Linked DNA regions of Homo sapiens: region 1 is linked to region 2. The links are contacts of gene promoters, found by promoter capture Hi-C in blood cells and fetal thymus (Javierre and others, 2016). All regions are on one chromosome and are shown on one strand. Each heading gives the region's core, a stretch centred on a gene start or on the middle of the fragment in contact. The rest is flanking DNA. Distances are from core to core; before and after follow the strand shown. Region 1 holds the start of CPEB2 (cytoplasmic polyadenylation element binding protein 2). Region 2 holds the start of DHX15 (DEAH-box helicase 15).

What was found. The method cuts DNA at HindIII sites, captures the fragments that hold promoters and counts their contacts. A CHiCAGO score of 5 or more calls a contact.
Region 1: a fragment that was not itself captured here is called in contact with the fragment with the promoter of DHX15 in region 2 in 1 of 17 cell types (non-activated CD4 T cells); the score reaches 7.8 in non-activated CD4 T cells.

What each region holds. Positions count from the first base shown.
Region 1 is chr4:15,000,265-15,005,657 of GRCh38, forward strand. CPEB2 (cytoplasmic polyadenylation element binding protein 2) reads left to right here and starts at 2,217. Exons shown (of 12, transcript NM_001177382.2): 1 at 2,217-4,071. The coding sequence starts at 2,410. CPEB2-DT (CPEB2 divergent transcript) reads right to left here and starts at 1,781. Exons shown (of 8, transcript NR_038857.1): 1 at 1,674-1,781; 2 at 1,362-1,461; 3 at 897-965. C1QTNF7-AS1 (C1QTNF7 antisense RNA 1) reads right to left here. Exons shown (of 6, transcript NR_125911.1): 6 at 4,678-4,893. RefSeq lists enhancers at 1,206-1,255, 4,097-4,663 and silencers at 1,496-2,355, 2,856-3,165, 3,216-3,365, 3,466-3,675, 4,056-4,655. The HindIII fragment of the contact is 344 bases long and covers 1,133-1,476 here.
Region 2 is chr4:24,583,265-24,588,491 of GRCh38, forward strand. DHX15 (DEAH-box helicase 15) reads right to left here and starts at 1,290. Exons shown (of 14, transcript NM_001358.3): 1 at 1,059-1,290. The coding sequence starts at 1,129. RefSeq lists silencers at 549-598, 799-878, 889-1,008 and an enhancer at 1,189-1,728. The HindIII fragment of the contact is 7,218 bases long and covers 1-5,227 here.

The DNA of each region.
Region 1 (5,393 bases), core at 55-2,554, 9.6 Mb before region 2:
ACTAAGAAATCTTGTTTTTGTTCAAAACTCTAGCCCAGAAAGGCACCAGTTAGCTTTTAAAAGTATGTGCTCTCTCCTCTTTACTAACTGCGGTGTTAGTGGATAATTGAGCTAAGGTTTATACCTGTATTTTCCCCCTATTTCAAGATTTGTTGTTGGATCTGCAAATGATTCCAATCAAATACAACTGTACTTGGAAAAAAATCATCCGTTGTTAAGACTTTACATTCCTTAGTTGCAGAAGTAGTTTTTTTTCCTGCACAATACCTTTTAAAAAATGAATATTTAATATGTCAATATATACTCTGAAAATAACCATTTATATTTTAAATTCTGAGCTCAGGTTATTTTCTAGACATTGTAATTTAGAATAAAAATACTTCTCCAGTTCTACATTTTGCCTGACTGTTAAAAATGATTTTGAGATTAATAAGTTGAACCAATTTTCTATTCACCTGACCAAATTCTGAACCATTTGAGTTTTTTAAAAAGTACTTTTTCCTTATTGTAAAGGCAACATAAAACTTGGTTCATTGGACAGGATAGCAGAGATAAACATTATACATGAAGTATAGTTCCCTGGGGCAATGTTGCTCTCTTTCTACCATGTTTATTTCGATTTATATAAATTTGAGACACTGAACAGAAGTAGAATTCAAATAGAGAATGAGGACTTATAAAAATGTACACTCTGCCTACATCAGTAAGAGTATGCTAATTTATAAAATTAAATATTTAATCTTAGTTCACTTGTAAACCAAAATCAAGTAAAGTCTGAATCCACCTTCTATTGCTTTGGGGGTTTGAGTCTATATTCTAGGATTCATTTAATAGTTTCATTTCTCTAAGCATCAAGCAAAACAGTTAAAATTACAAAACAGAAACATAAAGTTCACCTCATCATGTAGTATGGATCACTCTGTTATTCTTTATCTAGACCTTCAAATACTTTATGTAAAATGTTTCTATACAAAAGGAAACACAGGATTAGTTCCTCCTCTAATGCTTCTAAAGAGCTCTACCATGGAAAGCTCTCTCCCTTCCATTTTGCAAGTCTCAACAAGTCTGCTGCTGAGTCAGAACCTCCTTTTTTCCCTGATGTAAGAACTATTTCTCCCTTGAAAATTCATAAAGCTTAGGAATAAATTAGAGTCTCCCTGGGGGGAAGGGGCGGGGACGCCGGAATGAATGTGGTGGGGAGGAGTCCCACGCTGCAGCCCTGATGGCACACGAAAGGCTTTTATGAAGCGGAGCTGGCCCGGGGTTACTATGGGAGCTCGCCGTGGAACCCGTTCCACGCATCCGAGTGTGTAAATAACCACGCGGAGCGTGTTTGTTCCAGGGACTTTGTTCCTTCTTACCCAAGTGAAAATGCCTGGAATATAGCCGAGGCTTCATGTTTACCCTACAGAAACACCCTCGGCGGCTCTACGACGTCGGTGACAGCACTCCTACCAGCGCCTAAAAACAGAAACAAGCTTAGAGGGCGCTACCTAGGGCTACAAGGAGGCCCTAGATCGGGGACTCGGGGTCTAGAGGTGCGCGGCGAGGCGCTCAGCGGACTTCAAGCCGGCAGAGCCCAGACGCTAGTTCACCACAGGACCCCCGGGCTGGGCCGGGCTCCCGCGTTGCGCTGGGGGCCCCTCGGGCGCCTATTTCTACGCGGGTCGCACAGTGCAGGCGCCGGTCGGGGTCCCGGGCCTCAGTTTCCCCCGCGGGCCAGCCCCGCTCTGGGAAGCCCGAGTGGTGCAGCAGGGCTTCTCCCCACCCAGGGCGGAACCGAGGTGACAGGAAGGAGGAGGCACCGCGAGGGGCGGAGACGCGTGCGACCCAGGCAGACTCTGCGCGGATCCCGCGCCAAGGAGGGGCCGTTGCCCAGGAACCGTCCCTCCCTCCCGCGCGTGCTTGCCCTCGTGCGCGCGCCCGCCCAATGCTCCCGACCACTGTTTGCCAGCCGACCCCCACCCCAACCGGCCTGTCCATTTCCCCGGGAGCGGAGAGACCCAACGGGACACGCCGCTCGCTCCCGCCCTCCCGGGAGCGCGAGCGCGCCCTCGGCTGCGTCTGCATAGTAATGAGGGGCGGGGAGGGGCGACGGGGACGCGGTGGCCTCGCGCCCGCGCGTGCCGGGACGCACCGCGGGGGGCGGCGCGATTGTGAGGTGGCGCTGACGCACGTTCCGGGGTTCTTAAGCGGCCAGGGCGGCTACGGCGACTGCGACGGCGGCGGCGGCGGCGATCGCCGCGAGGGGTGGTGGGGCCGAAGTCGGTGCCCCCTGGCTCAGTCACGGTGTCCCTCTCTCACTGACTCCCCCTCCTTCCACCACGGCCGCGCAACCCCAGCGCCGGCGGCTTCCTAGGTGGGGCAGGGGACGAGGAGCGTCTCCTCCCGCTGCCGGCGGCCTGATAAATGAGGGATTTCGGGTTTGGGGTGCTGCAGACCGCCCCGCTCCGAAGTAGCAGTCCTGGGCCCCTGTTCTGCGGCGAGGCGTATGGTCCTTACGCCGTGGGGTCCGTCAACCCGCTGCCCTCCGCCACGCCCTTCGGCCCACTGTCGCCACCACCGTTGCCTGTCACCGGCTTCTTAGAGGCCGCCTCCCCCTTCTCCGTCCCCCTCGGCGGCGGCGCGGGCAGCCCGGCCGCCGCCGCTTCCTCTTCCTCCCCGTTCCTGGCGCATCAGCAGACCATGCAGGATGAGCTGCTTCTGGGGCTGACACAGCAGCCGGCGCGGCCGCTTTCGGGGGCGGCGGCCACGGAGAAACTCCCCGACCACCACCCCGGCGGCGGCACGATCGCGGGTGTGACCCACCTCCTCCCCTCCCAGGACTTCAAACCGAGTCTGCACCACCCCTCCTCCTCCTCCGCCTCCTCCTGCTGCTGCTGCCGCACCTCCTCCCCGCAGGACTTCAGTAAGCGGCAGCAGCAGCAGCTGAGCAGCCAGAAGAGGAAAGAGTTCAGCCCTCCCCACCTTCCCCACCCTCCGGACTCGAAGCCGCCGCCGCCGCCTCCGCCGCTCCACTGCCCCGGTCGGTTCAGCCCGCCGCCGCCGCCAGCCGGCCCGCTCCTCCAGCCGGCGCAGCTCGCTCAGCGCCAGCAGCAACAGCCGCCGCAGCAGTTCAGCCTCCTGCATCAGCAGCACCTCTCGCCGCAGGACTTCGCCCCGCGGCAGCGTCCGGCAGACCTGCCCCCGCTCCCGCAGCTCCCTCCCTCGCCGCCTGCAGCCCCGCGGCGCCGCCACGGAGGCGCGGGCAGCCCTCGCAAGACCCCAGCCGCGGGCGAGGGCAGCGCCGCCGAGTCCCCCAATGCGGGCTTGGCCTCCTCGACGCCGGTGAACCCCGCGCCGGGCTCCATGGAGTCCCCCAACCACCCTCTGCTCAACAGTCCCAGTAACCTCCTGCCCGGAGGTGCGCTTGGCGCGGGCGCCTTCAGCAGCCTGCAGAGCCCGGACCTTCCACACCCGGGCGGCGGCGGCGGCGGCGGGGGCGGGGGGCCCCCAGGAGGCGGAGGGGGAGGCGGCTCCGCGTCGCCGCCGCCGCTGCCCGGCTTCGGCACCCCCTGGTCGGTGCAGACCGCGTCGCCGCCACCCCAGCCCCAGCAGCCGCCGCCGACCCAGCCGCAGCAGCAGCCGCCGCCACCCCAGCAGCCGCCCCAGCCGCAGCCGCAGCCGCCCGGCTCGTCTGCCACCACCCCGGGCGGCGGCAGCGGCGGCTCGCTCAGCGCCATGCCGCCGCCCAGCCCCGACTCAGAGAACGGCTTCTACCCCGGGCTGCCGTCGTCCATGAACCCGGCCTTCTTCCCTAGCTTCTCGCCCGTGTCGCCGCACGGCTGCACTGGGCTCAGCGTTCCGACGAGCGGCGGCGGCGGCGGCGGCTTCGGCGGCCCCTTCTCGGCTACCGCTGTGCCCCCTCCGCCGCCGCCCGCCATGAATATACCTCAACAGCAGCCCCCGCCGCCCGCGGCGCCGCAGCAGCCGCAGAGCCGGAGGTCGCCCGTCAGCCCGCAGCTCCAGCAGCAGCACCAGGCGGCGGCCGCCGCCTTCCTGCAGCAGAGGAACTCCTATAACCACCACCAGGTACGGCGGGCGGCGGCCTGGCCGCGCCGCGGGACCGGGAGACCATGGGCGGGGGACGGAGGCGGGGGCAGGGCAGCCGGGGACCCGACCTTAGCCCCGAGAGAAGCCGCGACGGGGGCCACTCGCCCAAGTGAGAGTGGAACTGAGGGCGGACAACCGTGACAGGACTCGGAACCCCAGCCCCCGGTGGGTTGGGAGGGCAGTGGCCACCGTGGGCTGTGGGGGCGTGGGAGACGAGTTCGCGCTGGGAGCCGCGGCTGGCCGGGCGCCCCCTCGAACGTCCCGGCGCAGCAGTGGGGACTGGGGCAGGGGCCGAATAGCGCCGGGGCCGCGGGCGGCCGGGCGCGGCGTCTCAACCCGGCCCTCCTAGCTGGCGCACCCCGGGATCCGCCCTGTGCCCTGGGCCTGGAGGGCCGCCGCCCCGGACCCCCGACGCGGGGAGGCGCGGCGAGGACCGGGGGCTGGCCGGGGGCCTCGGAAGAGCGGCCGTGGGAAGTGAACTTGGGCAGGGGAAAAATGATTGCTGGAGAAGGTGCGTGCGGAGGAGCCCAAGACTCTGTCTCGCTGTCCAATGAGGGAAGGCGGAAAGGCTTTTTTTTTTCTTTGGAGTTTGTTTATTCTTATTTGGCCGGCGGTGATCTCGCCTTGAAGCCTCAGCCCCTCGGGCGGTCAGTCGAGCCGCTCCCAAAGCTCCGCCCGATCAACCTGCTGGCAGCGCCGCACCCTGGGCCGCCGGCCCAGGAGGGAGTCGGGAGGGAGCGGCCGACCGCCCTCCTCGCAGGACCTGGTTCCCGCGGGGCCGCCTCCTTGGCTGTCACAGGACTGGGAAAGAGAAACTGTTAGTGACCGCTCGGGTTCAAACCGAGATATCCCACGAATGTCTTAGTTTCTGTGCTTTTCAATGTTGGGGTCATGTTTTGTGGGTTTTAAGACAAAACTGAACTTGGATCTGGGATTGGTGTGTTTCCTCGTAGACTTTCGGTACATTTTTTGGTTGCCTTAACCTTCTACAAGGGAATATGTGGGCCGTGTGTATTTTAAGTAGGTAATATTGTGAAATGACACTGGGCAGAATTTTTATTTTCCGGATCTTTTTTGATTCAAGATCTTTTTTGTTATTCCCTCAATACAATTTTTGGGTGACCGCTAGATTGGTAAATTGGCATTGAAAGAGTGTCTTGTTGGTTTTGAATCTTGTTAGCATTTGTTGCAGAGTTCATTCTGTTTAAGTCCATTTTCTATTTTCGTGATTAAGGATTGACAGAGACGCAAAATATGACCTTAACCCCATAACTTTTTCAGTTGACCAAAGTTTTCAAGGA
Region 2 (5,227 bases), core at 40-2,539:
ACGAAATTGCTTAAATTAACTGCTAAATTCCTCTGTACCTTTAAGGAAAGGAATCTGGAACACCAAGAGTTTGTGTAAGTATTTCAACTCTCAACCTCCACATGGGCGGTGTTTCGCCATAAATACTAAAAACACGTTTTGAACATGATCCCTGTATTTCAAAAGCTACTTATGAAGAAAAGTGGGACATGCATAGAAAATAAATGATGAAAAAAAAAAACAATGCCTTCTAATCCCTCCCCATGGGACGATGTTCAGTAACCAGTTTTAACCAAAGCAGGAAATACAGGAGATGGCGGGAGCGTAGGCAGAGAGCGGAAGTTTGCTAGTATCTACTTTGAAGTGTTTGAATGGACCAAGGCACGCTCTCTCCCGCCAAACTATAAACTCAGTCGCCCCAAAACACCAGCCTTCCAGCCCATCAGGTATATTACTCCACGTTTTCCTTTCTCCCGGCAGGTCCTCTACTCCCACCTCCCCCGAGAACTCCCTATTTGCTGGCTTCTCTCAACTCCCGCCACCCCCATCCCAGCCTACATTATGATCCACGCGCTGCTCTCACTTTCCGCCCTCCGCCTTTCCCGTCTGGAGTGCCTGGCCGCGCCCCCACCCAGGCCCTCCCCACGGCCCCTCTGGCTGGGAAGTGCCTGCTGCCCTTGGAAGCGAATACTCCCACCGCGCCCTCCCCCACCCTCTCCTCCGGCTCCAGGCCTTCCTCGGGAACCGAGGCCACGAGGTCCGCGGTTCACTCCCGCCCGACGCCCTCGCAAATGACTCCCGCTCGGTTCGGCCTGGGGGAGGAGGCGCCCTCATGGCTACTGCAGGCCTCTCCACCCTCCGGACTGGGCTGGGCAGCGGCCCCGTCGCACGCAACCCCCCGCGCCCTTGCCGGGCCGAACGGGCGCCGCGCTTCTCCTACCCGCCGCTAGTGAACCCAGCCCAGAGAGAAACAAAGGCTCGGGCTCCAGGACCCGCTCGGCCAGGCCAGCCCCGGCCCGCTCCCTGCCAGGACCCCAACAAAGCCCGAGCTGCCGCCTCGCGCCCCCGGCCTGGCTTACCCATCGGTCCCCGCACGCTTCTTGCCAGAGGGGTAATCCTCCCCTAGGTCCAACCGGTGCCGCTTGGACATCCTCGCACTCTTCGAACGGGCAGTTATTAAGGAAGAAAGCTGGCTGCTGTATGGGCACAGTCGAGGACAGCCACTTAACTCTGGAGGACCCCCACCCCTCCCGCTACTACAGCCCACACGGTGCGGCCGGAACCAACAGCTAAAATGGCGGCGGCGACGAGGGCTGGGCCTGCGCGCGCGCGCGCTTCCGCAGCGTGCGTGCGTGCGAGTGTGCGTGTGAGCGAGGTGCGCGCGCACGACGCCCAAAGGCGGGAACTCCTGTCCCGCCCGCTGCCTCATTGGTCCGACCTTTCTTGGGTCTCCTCCCTCTTCCTGTAGCTTTCCCCTCCTCGGAGCGGCTGTTAGGAAGAACCTGAAGGCCTTCACTTTCCATTTCAGGCTATCCTTGCCCCTCTGAGTCAAGAAATTGAGAAAGTCTAGTCCTAGTTAGGAAATCCTATTCATTTCTATTACCCCGGCTTTAAGGGAATCTCAGACCCAGAGAGGTTGAGAAACGAATGAAGATCGTACAGCTAATAAGTGGCAGAGCCGGGATTGGAACCCAGCTATTTAGTAACTCCAGATCTGGAACTTGCGGCCACTGCGCTACCCTCAGTTGCAGTGAGGGGCCGCGCGATGGTTCACGCCTGTAATCCCAACGCTTTGGGAGACCGAGGCGGGTGGATCACGAGGTCAGGAGTTCGAGACCAGCCTGGCCAACACGGTGAAACCCCGTCTCTACTAAAAATACAAAAATTAGCTGGGCGTGGTGGCGTACGCCTGTAATCCCAGCTACTCGGTAGGCTGAGGCAGGAGAATCGCTTGAACCTGGGAGGCGGAGGTTGCGGTGAGACGAGATCACACCAGTGCACTCCAGCCTGGACGACAGAACAAGACTCCGACTTGAAAGAAAAAAAAAAATCAATTGCAGTGAGGAAACTGAAGTGAGAAAATGTTAAGGCTTGTCATGATCTATTTTGCCCTTTTCTTGCCCAGCACGGACACCATGCACCCAAGCTATAGATGTTTTTAACTAGAATACAGAGAATTCGCAGTGAGGGCACAATTTGCTTTTTTGTTTTTTGTTTTTCTGTGCCTATTAATGCACTTTCGCAGTGTTAAATAACACCCTGCAAGGTAGTTGTTATTTTGTAGACGTAGACGCAAAGGCTGAGGAAGGTTACATCTCCTAGCCATAAGGGCTGTACCTAAAGCCATAACAAGGAGGTGGGGCAAGATGACTCTAAGGATTTTTGTGGATCTCTCCCCCTAGAATATGTCTGCTTCCTCAGTTGCATTTGTTCCCAGAAGAAATGCACAAGAAAAGATCTGTGGACCATCTGCAGCAGGGTGATCTCTGTTGTTCATGGAATGGCTTGGTTTGGCTGCCCTGGAAGACCATACTCTGGTTCTTATCCAAATCTCAGGACTGCAATTGCTAGGATTAAATGCAACTTAAATATTGCAACTGATGAGGGGTTTGTGTGTTTGTTTTGAGACAGTCTTGCTCTGTCGCCCAGGCTGGAGGACAGTGGTGCAATCTCAGCTCACTGCAACCTCCGCCTCCCGGGTTTAAGCCATTCTCCTGCCTCAGCCTCCCTCCTAGCTGGGATTATAAGCGCCCGCCACCACGCCCGGCTACGCGCCCGGCTAATTTTGGTATTTTTAGTAGAGACGTAGAGACGAGGTGTCGCCATGCTGGCCAGGCTGGTCTTGAACTCCGGACCTCAAGTGATCTGCCCACCTCGGCCTCCCAAAGTGCTGGGATTACAGGCGTGAGCCACTGCACCCAGCCAGCAATTGGTAAGGAGGGTTTTTATTTTTTTGTACCAAATCCACATTGGAAAGTCAACACAAAGAAAAATGAGTATATTTTTCACTTGTGAAATATTCAGTACAACTTTCTATCCTAAATGTACCATAGTCCCTACTTTGTCCCTGGTTTTGCTTTCACAGTACAGTAAGATATTCTGAGAGAAAGACCACATTCACATAGCTTCTATTACAGTATAGATTCTCCTTGACTTATGATGGGGTGATGGCCATCGCAAAGCCATCGTAAACTGAAAATGTTGTAAGTTGAACATGCAGTTAATATACCGATAAACCCATCGTGAAGTCAAAAAATCTGGTCAAACAATTGTAAGTCAAGACTGTCTGTATGTTGTTATAAATGTTTTATTATTAGTTGTTAATATCTTACTGTGCCTAATTTATAAGTTACACTTTATCATAATTACATATGTATAGGAAAAAACTGAAATTAAAATGATGAGTTGGCCTTCTATTATCTGTGGGTTCCTTATCCCTGGATTCAATCAACTGCAAATCAAAAATATATTTTTCTTTAAAAATGGATGGTTGCATCTGTATTGAACATGTACAGACTTTTTCTTGCTCTTATTTCTTAAACAATACAGTATAACAGCTATTTCCATAGCAATTACATTGTATTAGGTATTATAAGTGATCTAGTGATGATTAAGTATACAGAAGAATGTGCATAGGTTATATGCAAATACTGTACTATTTTATATCAGACACTTGAACCTCCACGGACTTTAGTGTCGGCAGTTTCTCCTGGAACCAATCCCTAGTGGATACTGAGGGACAATTGTGTTGACTTTTTTCAGATCATGATGTATAATCACTGGATTCCATCTGATTTTTCTCTTTTTGCTTAATTTTACAAATGAGGGAAACTGAACCCCTAGGTCTTATTGAAGTTCACACAATCAGTTGGTATCAAAGTCAGAATAAAATACAGATTTCACTTGAAGTATTAAAATCTCAGTCTTCAGGTTTCCAGTTTGATGACTGCTATAAAGTGCTCTAAAATTTTGGAGAAATAATCAGGGAAAAAAGTTAGAATTCTACCTGCAGAAGTGCTCCACTCAGATGTCAGCCTCTCATAAATGATGAAAGAGGAACTGAAATCAAGGTGATGAGACTTTTCCCTTGGGCCTAGGTTACAGCTAAAGAAAACCATAACCTCATCAGTTGTGTTGTGACCTGAACAATTAAAGAAAGGCCCTGGGCAGGCGTGGTGGTTCACACCTGTAATTCCAGCACTTTGGGAGGCCGAGGCAGGTGGATCATGAGGTCAGGAGTTCGAGACCAGGCTGACCAACATGGTGAAACCCCGTCTCTACTAAAAATACAAAAATGAGCCAGGCATAGTGGCACATGCCTGTAATCCCAGCTACTCAGGAGGCTGAGGCAGGAGAATCACTTGAACCCGGGAGGTTGAGGTCGCAGTGAGCCAAGATTGTGCCACTGCACTCCAGCCTGGGCAACAGAGCAAGACGCCATCAGAAAGAAAGAAAGAGAGAAAGACAGAAAGGAAGGAAAGAAGGAAAGAAAGAAAGGAAGAAAGGAAGGAAAGAAGAAAGGAAGAAAAGAAGGAAAGGAGGAAAGAGAAAGGCCCTACTTATTGAAGGATAGTGACCTCTCTGGAATCTAGAATAAGGGGAACAAGTGGCCAGAGGCTGCCAGGATGTGCACACTCCTTGGGAAGAAGGGTAGAATTCTAGGTCTAAATGATCCACCCTGGATTTTCAGACATCATTATCCCTGGAGTAGAGAAAAGGCACCCACCAGGCCCTCCACAAACTTGGCTGGAAATATTTCCAGATAATATCCTATTTTCCCTTACTGTTACTCTTTCTCTACTAGACAACCCTCTGGCCTATGACATGGACTTTCTCACCTGGAGGAAATGTCTTATGCAGCTAACCAGCTGCAGGGTCTCAAGTCAACCTAAATTAATAAAAAATAATTGCTAATAGCAAACACATACAAAGCACTATGAGCCAGATGCTGTTCCTTACACATTTGAGCCTATTTGAGACTTACAGCAACTTCAAGTTTAGTCCAATGAATTACTCTTATTTACAGCTGAGGAAACTGTTACTCAAAGAGGCAAGTATTTTGGCCAAGATGACAGTTCTGAGATTCAGCCCAGACAGTGTGTGTGCTTAATTGCTATGTTCTGCTGCGGCTGATAAATAGATATTCTCGTTCCACTTTATTCGTCTAAGGTGTGGTTACTGAAGATAAGTTCTCCCAGTCTGACAAGATGAACATGAACTGATAAAACTTCTGCATTGTCCATGTAGA